Linked DNA regions of Homo sapiens: region 1 is linked to region 2. The links are contacts of gene promoters, found by promoter capture Hi-C in human tissues and cell types (Jung and others, 2019). All regions are on one chromosome and are shown on one strand. The core of a region is centred on a gene start or on the middle of the fragment in contact, and the rest is flanking DNA. Distances in the headings are between cores, read along the strand shown.

Region 1 (2,932 bases), core at 71-2,570, 1.0 Mb before region 2:
GTGACCTCAATTAGACTTGAACATGGAGGTTGCATGATGCTGTGGAAACGTCCTGACTTTTAAAGTCATCCAGGCCTGGGCTCAAATGCCACCCTGCTGCTTACTTGGGTAAGTGTAGACCTTGGTAATCTTCTTAGCCTCTCTGAATCTCACTGTCCTTGCTGTTATGAGGACCAAATGCCACGGATGACATAAAATGCTTGGCGCACAGTAGGAAATCAGTCCACTTCCCTGCCCCTCGTCTACCTTCAGGGCAGGATCACCATGGCATTCTGTATTATCTGGCTTCCCCCCAAGATCTGAAGCATGCTGGGCACATAATTAATTTTTAGTAGTAACCTGATGAGTGAATCATAAACTGGGCTTCTTTTTACAGGCTATTCCTAAAGCTAAATATTTGTAAAACTCTGATAGATGCTCTGCAAAATGGAAGTGCCAGGGACAAGGGAAGGATCAATGTCATCAACTCACTGAACAAAGTCAGACTGGACTAGGGCTGAGTCGAATTATGCCAGGAAAATGTGTTCTCTAGGCCAAAGGGTAGGGCACTGGATGGAAAAATCAGCCCCTCAGAGAGCTGAAAGAGGGTTTCTGGATGGAAACAGGGCATTCCAGGCCAGACTGGGCTGAGCCATCAAGCTGGGGCCATGGTGCTGTTGAGTCCTTGGGATCCCAATGTCATCATGAAAATCATCAATTTTTTTAGTGCCTGGACAGGCGAATGGAAACATTTTGATGCACTGGAGGAACACAGGGCCAGCATTTGGCCAGGCCTGACTTATATATTGCAAGTTTTGGCCTCTTTCTTAGGAGAGAAAACATCTCCCCAGATTCCCCATGCTCTTAGCTCTCCCTTATTGCTGGGGAAATGCTCTGCGGAGCTGGGTGGTGGTGCAGGAGCACCCTCAGGTTTCAGTAAACTCCCCTTCCTCCACACAAAGGAACACATACCACCATAAACCACAATAAGAGAGATCTACACGTGCTGCCTAGGAAACCTGTCTATGACCTACTGTTGAATGAAAAAAACCTAGTTGTATGAGTAGCATGGTCTTATATTCATTCACTCATATCTATTTATTTGGTTGTACATATCTGTAGAGGAGCCTAGAAGGAAATCCTCCAGACTTAACAGAATGGCTACATGCAGCAATTTAGAGGAGGTAGTGGCTTCTTCGTATTCTCCTCTGTATTCTCATTTGATTGTTTTTAAAAACAAATAGCATTACTTGCACAGTAATTTTTAAATAAAATTTTACTTAAGGATCTCTGCTTCCAGTTCCCCTGACAACAGTCACTGAACATATGCAATAAGAAGCTTGGGAGAATTCACAGTCGGTTTAACTTTTAATGAGCATCTACTCTAGGTACAAGTCGGGGTTCCTACCCCAAACAGATGAGCTGACAGACACTTGTGTACGTAGTTCACTATAACAGGAGACGGCTTGGGGCAAGAGCTGGATGGATGCTATGATGCACAGCACTGTCATTTTAGATACATTACAACTCTTCTCTCATTAAATCCTTGACTCATTCAGTCAACACTCAAGGGTTGACTCATTCAGTCAACACTCAAGCACCTGTGGTATGCCAGCAACTGCATTAGGTGCCTGATTCACATTAATGAAAAAACAGACATGGTACTTGCTCCATGACATCTTGCAAAGAAGAAGTTTTCAGAAGTTCAACAACTTTCTCCAGGTGACTCAGCTAATAATGGAAGAGGAGCAATTAATTTTGACCCTGGTGACGGGAAATACCTTCCTGAGAAAAGTGACATTTGAGCCTCACCTTGAAGAATGAGTTAGATTGGACAGATGGACATCGCAATCCCAGAGGCATCCCAATCCCAGGGACCCCACGGATAGGTGCAGAAATGGAAACACACAAAGTAGATTATGGACACAGTGTGGTTCCTAGAGCAACTTGAAGGTAGGGGTGGAAAGGGAAGTGGAGAGAAACTAGTCAGGGAAGAGGGCAGGGGTCAGACTGTGCAGGGCATGAATGCCACAGCTTTATCCTGAAGGCCACAGGGGGCTAATAGTGCTGTGGCAATTTCCCTCAAAAGAGTGACATTATCAGACATCCCTCTAGAAACTCGGGTTGGGGAAGAACAGTGTGGTCTGGAGGCTCTGGAGCCAGTCTATCTGGGCTTGGATCCCAGCCCTGCACTCACAAGCTCTAGGACTTTGGGCAAGAGGCTTAAATTCCCTACTTCTTAGTTTCTCCATCAGTACAATGGAACTATAATAACAGTGATTGTAAGAATTCAATGTGCTAATATGGGAAAGGCTCACGGGAGGTTGGGTGCATAATGACAATGAATCAATGTCATTATTACTCTTGTTTCTCTGGTGTCCTTGTCAAGAATAGAGTAGGATGAGACAGTAGGCAGAAGGCTACTGTAATTGTCCATGAGAGAGATGAAGTCTTGAACTAAGGCCATGGGGATGGAGAAAATAAAAGTACAGAAGCAACATGGGAGGGTGAAGTAGGCAGGAACAGGTGACCAACTAGCTAAAGGAGAGAGTGGGGGAGGAGCCCAAGGTGACTGGGGACCCTAGCAGAGATGACTGAGTAGATGGGGCAGAAGCAGAGCCATGTATATGGAAGGGAAGGCACCAAGGTTCAGGTGATCGGGAAACCAGGCATAGATGCCTGTCAGGTACAATCAAGAATTTCATTAGACTCACAGACACTTCCATTTTACACTCAGCACTCCTGGGCCACAAGTTCTGTGGCTTCACAAGGTACCTGGGGAAAACCAAGAGCAGGTCCCCAGCCCCTGTGCAGACCTGACACAGCTTCTGCCTGTTGGTCCCTTCTCCACCATGCTACCTACCAGGTGAATGTTAGTAAACAAAATCTAGCAGGTAAAGATTAAGTATACATCTCACGGACCAGAGCTACTGATCCAGACTTTCTGTCCGGT
Region 2 (2,913 bases), core at 244-2,743:
CTAGTACTACAGACGTGGGCCACCATGCCCAGGCTAATTTTTATATTTTTTTTGTAGAGATGGGGTCTCAGTATGTTGTCCAGGCTGGCCTCAAACTCCTGGGCTCATGCAATCCACCTGCCTCGGCCTCCCAAAGTGCTGGGATCACAGGTGTGAGCCATCACACCCGGCCCTTCTAGGTCTTTCTATCTTCCTGCTCCACCATCCTTACTTAGCATGATGGTTTTTGCATTCATTTATGTAACTTAATGGATGCAAGACACATGCCACAGATCTGAACAGAATAAATGTTTTCAAGGCAGAAAGAAAGGGGGAGGGGAAGTCCCAGCCTTAGCTGTCCTTTTTATGAGGAAAGCAAAAACTTTTCCAGAAACACCTCAAAAAGACTTCCCCTTAAATATCACTGGCCAGCACTGGGTCACACTGCTACCCCTTGTGGCAAGTGAGGCTAGAAATTCTAGTTTTGACAAAGTGAAATATAATTTCATGACTAGTTTGGACCAAAACTGATTGCCCCACCCCTCCATCGACCTCTCCTGGAGACTAATTACACTTGCTCTGAGCCCCCAGAGCATGCTGGGCCTCTCTGATCCTAGCGACATATGCACTGTACAGCGGTTGCTTTTTTTTTTTTTTTTTTTTTTGAGACGGAGTCCCCCTCTGTCGCCCAGGCTGCAGTGCAGTGGCGCTATCTCGGCTCACTGCAAGCTCTGCCTCCCGGGTTCACGCCATTCTCCTGCCTCAGCCTCCCGAGCAGCTAGGACTACACGCACCCACCACCACGCCCGGCTAATTTTTTTTTTTGTATTTTTAGTAGAGACGGGGTTTCACTGTGTTAGCCAAGATGGTCTCGATCTCCTGAACTCGTGATCCGCCCGCCTCGGCCTAGCGGTTGCTCATTTTTTGCAGCCCCCACCCCTTGCTAGGATTTCTAAACAGGTGCCCACATCCTTGTATCCCCAGCACTTAACACAGTGCCTAGCTTCATTCCACCGGTTTATTTGAGTGACTGCCATGTGCGAGGCTCTGTGCAAATAAAGCAGGCGATTGGTGAACATTTCCTGGATGGATGGAGGGATGGATGGATGGACTGATGGGTGGATAGATGGATGGATATCATCACTGTGCAGTGGTTCCCATCAGGGCAGCCTGAGTCTCCCCACCCCCTCCCCTCATCCCTCTCACTCCAGGCTGTCATTTCACTTTCCTAAAAGCCTTCCCTTTGCCCATGATGCCAATGACTAGCTCTGTCCTGAAGCAATAGCTAGTACTTTCCCTCCTTCCTGCCACCTAGCATCCAGCCGAACCTTGAATCAATACCAGTAAAATGGGTGTGAACGGAAGGAGGCTGCTCATTATTTGCCATTATTTACCTCTGAGTCTGTGCATTCCCATTCCTTCCCATATTAATTCTCTCCCGCGCAACACCCCCCCCCCCCCGCCCCCCCATCCTTGGGAACTGGTTCAACCAGAGTACAACCAGCTCATCTGCATCTGGCCCTAAAGAACCTGCGGCAGCCAGAGGCGGAGGAAGAGAGAAGGCTGCATAGGAGCTGCAGCGCGGTGCGGCCAGCACACACCCCGGCCCGCGAGGCCCCGGGCTCGCCCATGAGGCCTCTGCCCAGCGGGAGGAGGAAGACCCGAGGCATCTCCCTAGGACTCTTCGCCCTCTGCCTGGCCGCAGCCCGCTGTCTGCAGAGTAAGCTCCGGGGGACGCCCCGGGTGCTGGGGGAGCGGGAATGGGTAGGGGGGCACGGGCGGGGCCCCGGGGTCTAGCAGCGGCCCCCCTGGCCCTCGCCCACCTTGTCCGGCTGAGGGCGCGCGGTGAGCTCGGCTGGCAGGCACCGCGCCGCTTCCTCGTGGGGCTGGGCGAGGCCTGGAGACCCGGCGCCGACCGTAGCGGGAGGGGCTGGGCAAAGCAGAGGCTACCGGCCGCGGCGCCCCGGCCCACTTCGGGGCGCCCGCCCCACCCGGCGAGCCCGGCCTACGGTTATCAGAGCTGGAAGGTGGCCCAGAGATAACCGGCTCCCAGCCCTGTGGCCGCCGCCTCTGCAACATTTTTTATTTCTTTTTCCTGGAATAACCAGATTGCAGTCCGTGCGCCGCCCCCTACTGTGGGGACCCCTCCATGGCCTTCCTGGTCATCTCCCAGGAGAATAATCAGGCCTCCTTATCAGTCAGACGAACCCACAGCAGCCTGCTCCCGTGAGAAAAACGGTTCTGGGGTTTGGGTTGGGCGTTGTGGCCTGAAGTCCCCAGGCTGGAGGTGGTCCTCGCGACCAGCGCACTGAGTAGATTTGCTTTGGATGGCCGGACCCGGAATCCCCAGCCTGGTGAGCCTGGATGCGAAGCGTAGTCCCAGAGGCTCTCTTGGACACAAACAACAGATCTTAGCACAGTTTTACTTTCTCATTTAATCATTACCATTCGCACTCCCATCTTACACATGGGCCAACTGAGGTTTAGAGAATGACAGAGCAGGGCCGCTGGAGGTGAGAGGCCTTGTAGTAAGAGCCAGCACTTATTAAGCATTTATGCATTCACCATCCCTCAGACTTTACAAGACCTCTCTCATTTAGTCCTTAGGGCAACCCTAATAAACTACTCTTATTCCTGTTTCACAAGTGAGGAAACTGAGGCACAGAAATGTTATAAGCCAATCGCAGGGGCTCATGCCTGTATTCCCAGCATTTTGGGAGGCCGAGGCCAGCGGATCCCTTGAGTCCAGGAGTTCAAGACCAGCCTGGGCAACATGGCAAACTGTCTGTAGTAAAAATATGAAAAAATTAGCTGGGTGTGGTGGCCTGTGCCTGTAGGCCCAGCTACTGGGGTGGGCGGCGGGGGAGCTGAGGTGAAAGGATCACTTAAGCCCAGGAGATTGAGGCTTCAGTGAGCCCTGATTGTGCCACTGCA

Evidence for each region. Contacts are between HindIII fragments. The study calls those that stand out against the background at their distance.
Region 1: a fragment that was not itself captured here is called in contact with the fragment with the promoter of VSTM5 in region 2 in 1 of the 25 tissues and cell types used here (dorsolateral prefrontal cortex).

Annotation. Positions count from the first base shown.
Region 1 is chr11:94,878,997-94,881,928 of GRCh38, reverse strand. No RefSeq gene overlaps it. Among named protein-coding and RNA genes, the nearest start is that of CWC15, 93 kb to the left of the region's middle. The HindIII fragment of the contact is 5,689 bases long and covers 1-2,932 here.
Region 2 is chr11:93,849,198-93,852,110 of GRCh38, reverse strand. It overlaps VSTM5 (V-set and transmembrane domain containing 5), which reads left to right and starts at 1,493. Exons shown (of 4, transcript NM_001144871.2): 1 at 1,493-1,699. The coding sequence starts at 1,609. The HindIII fragment of the contact is 15,680 bases long and covers 1-2,913 here.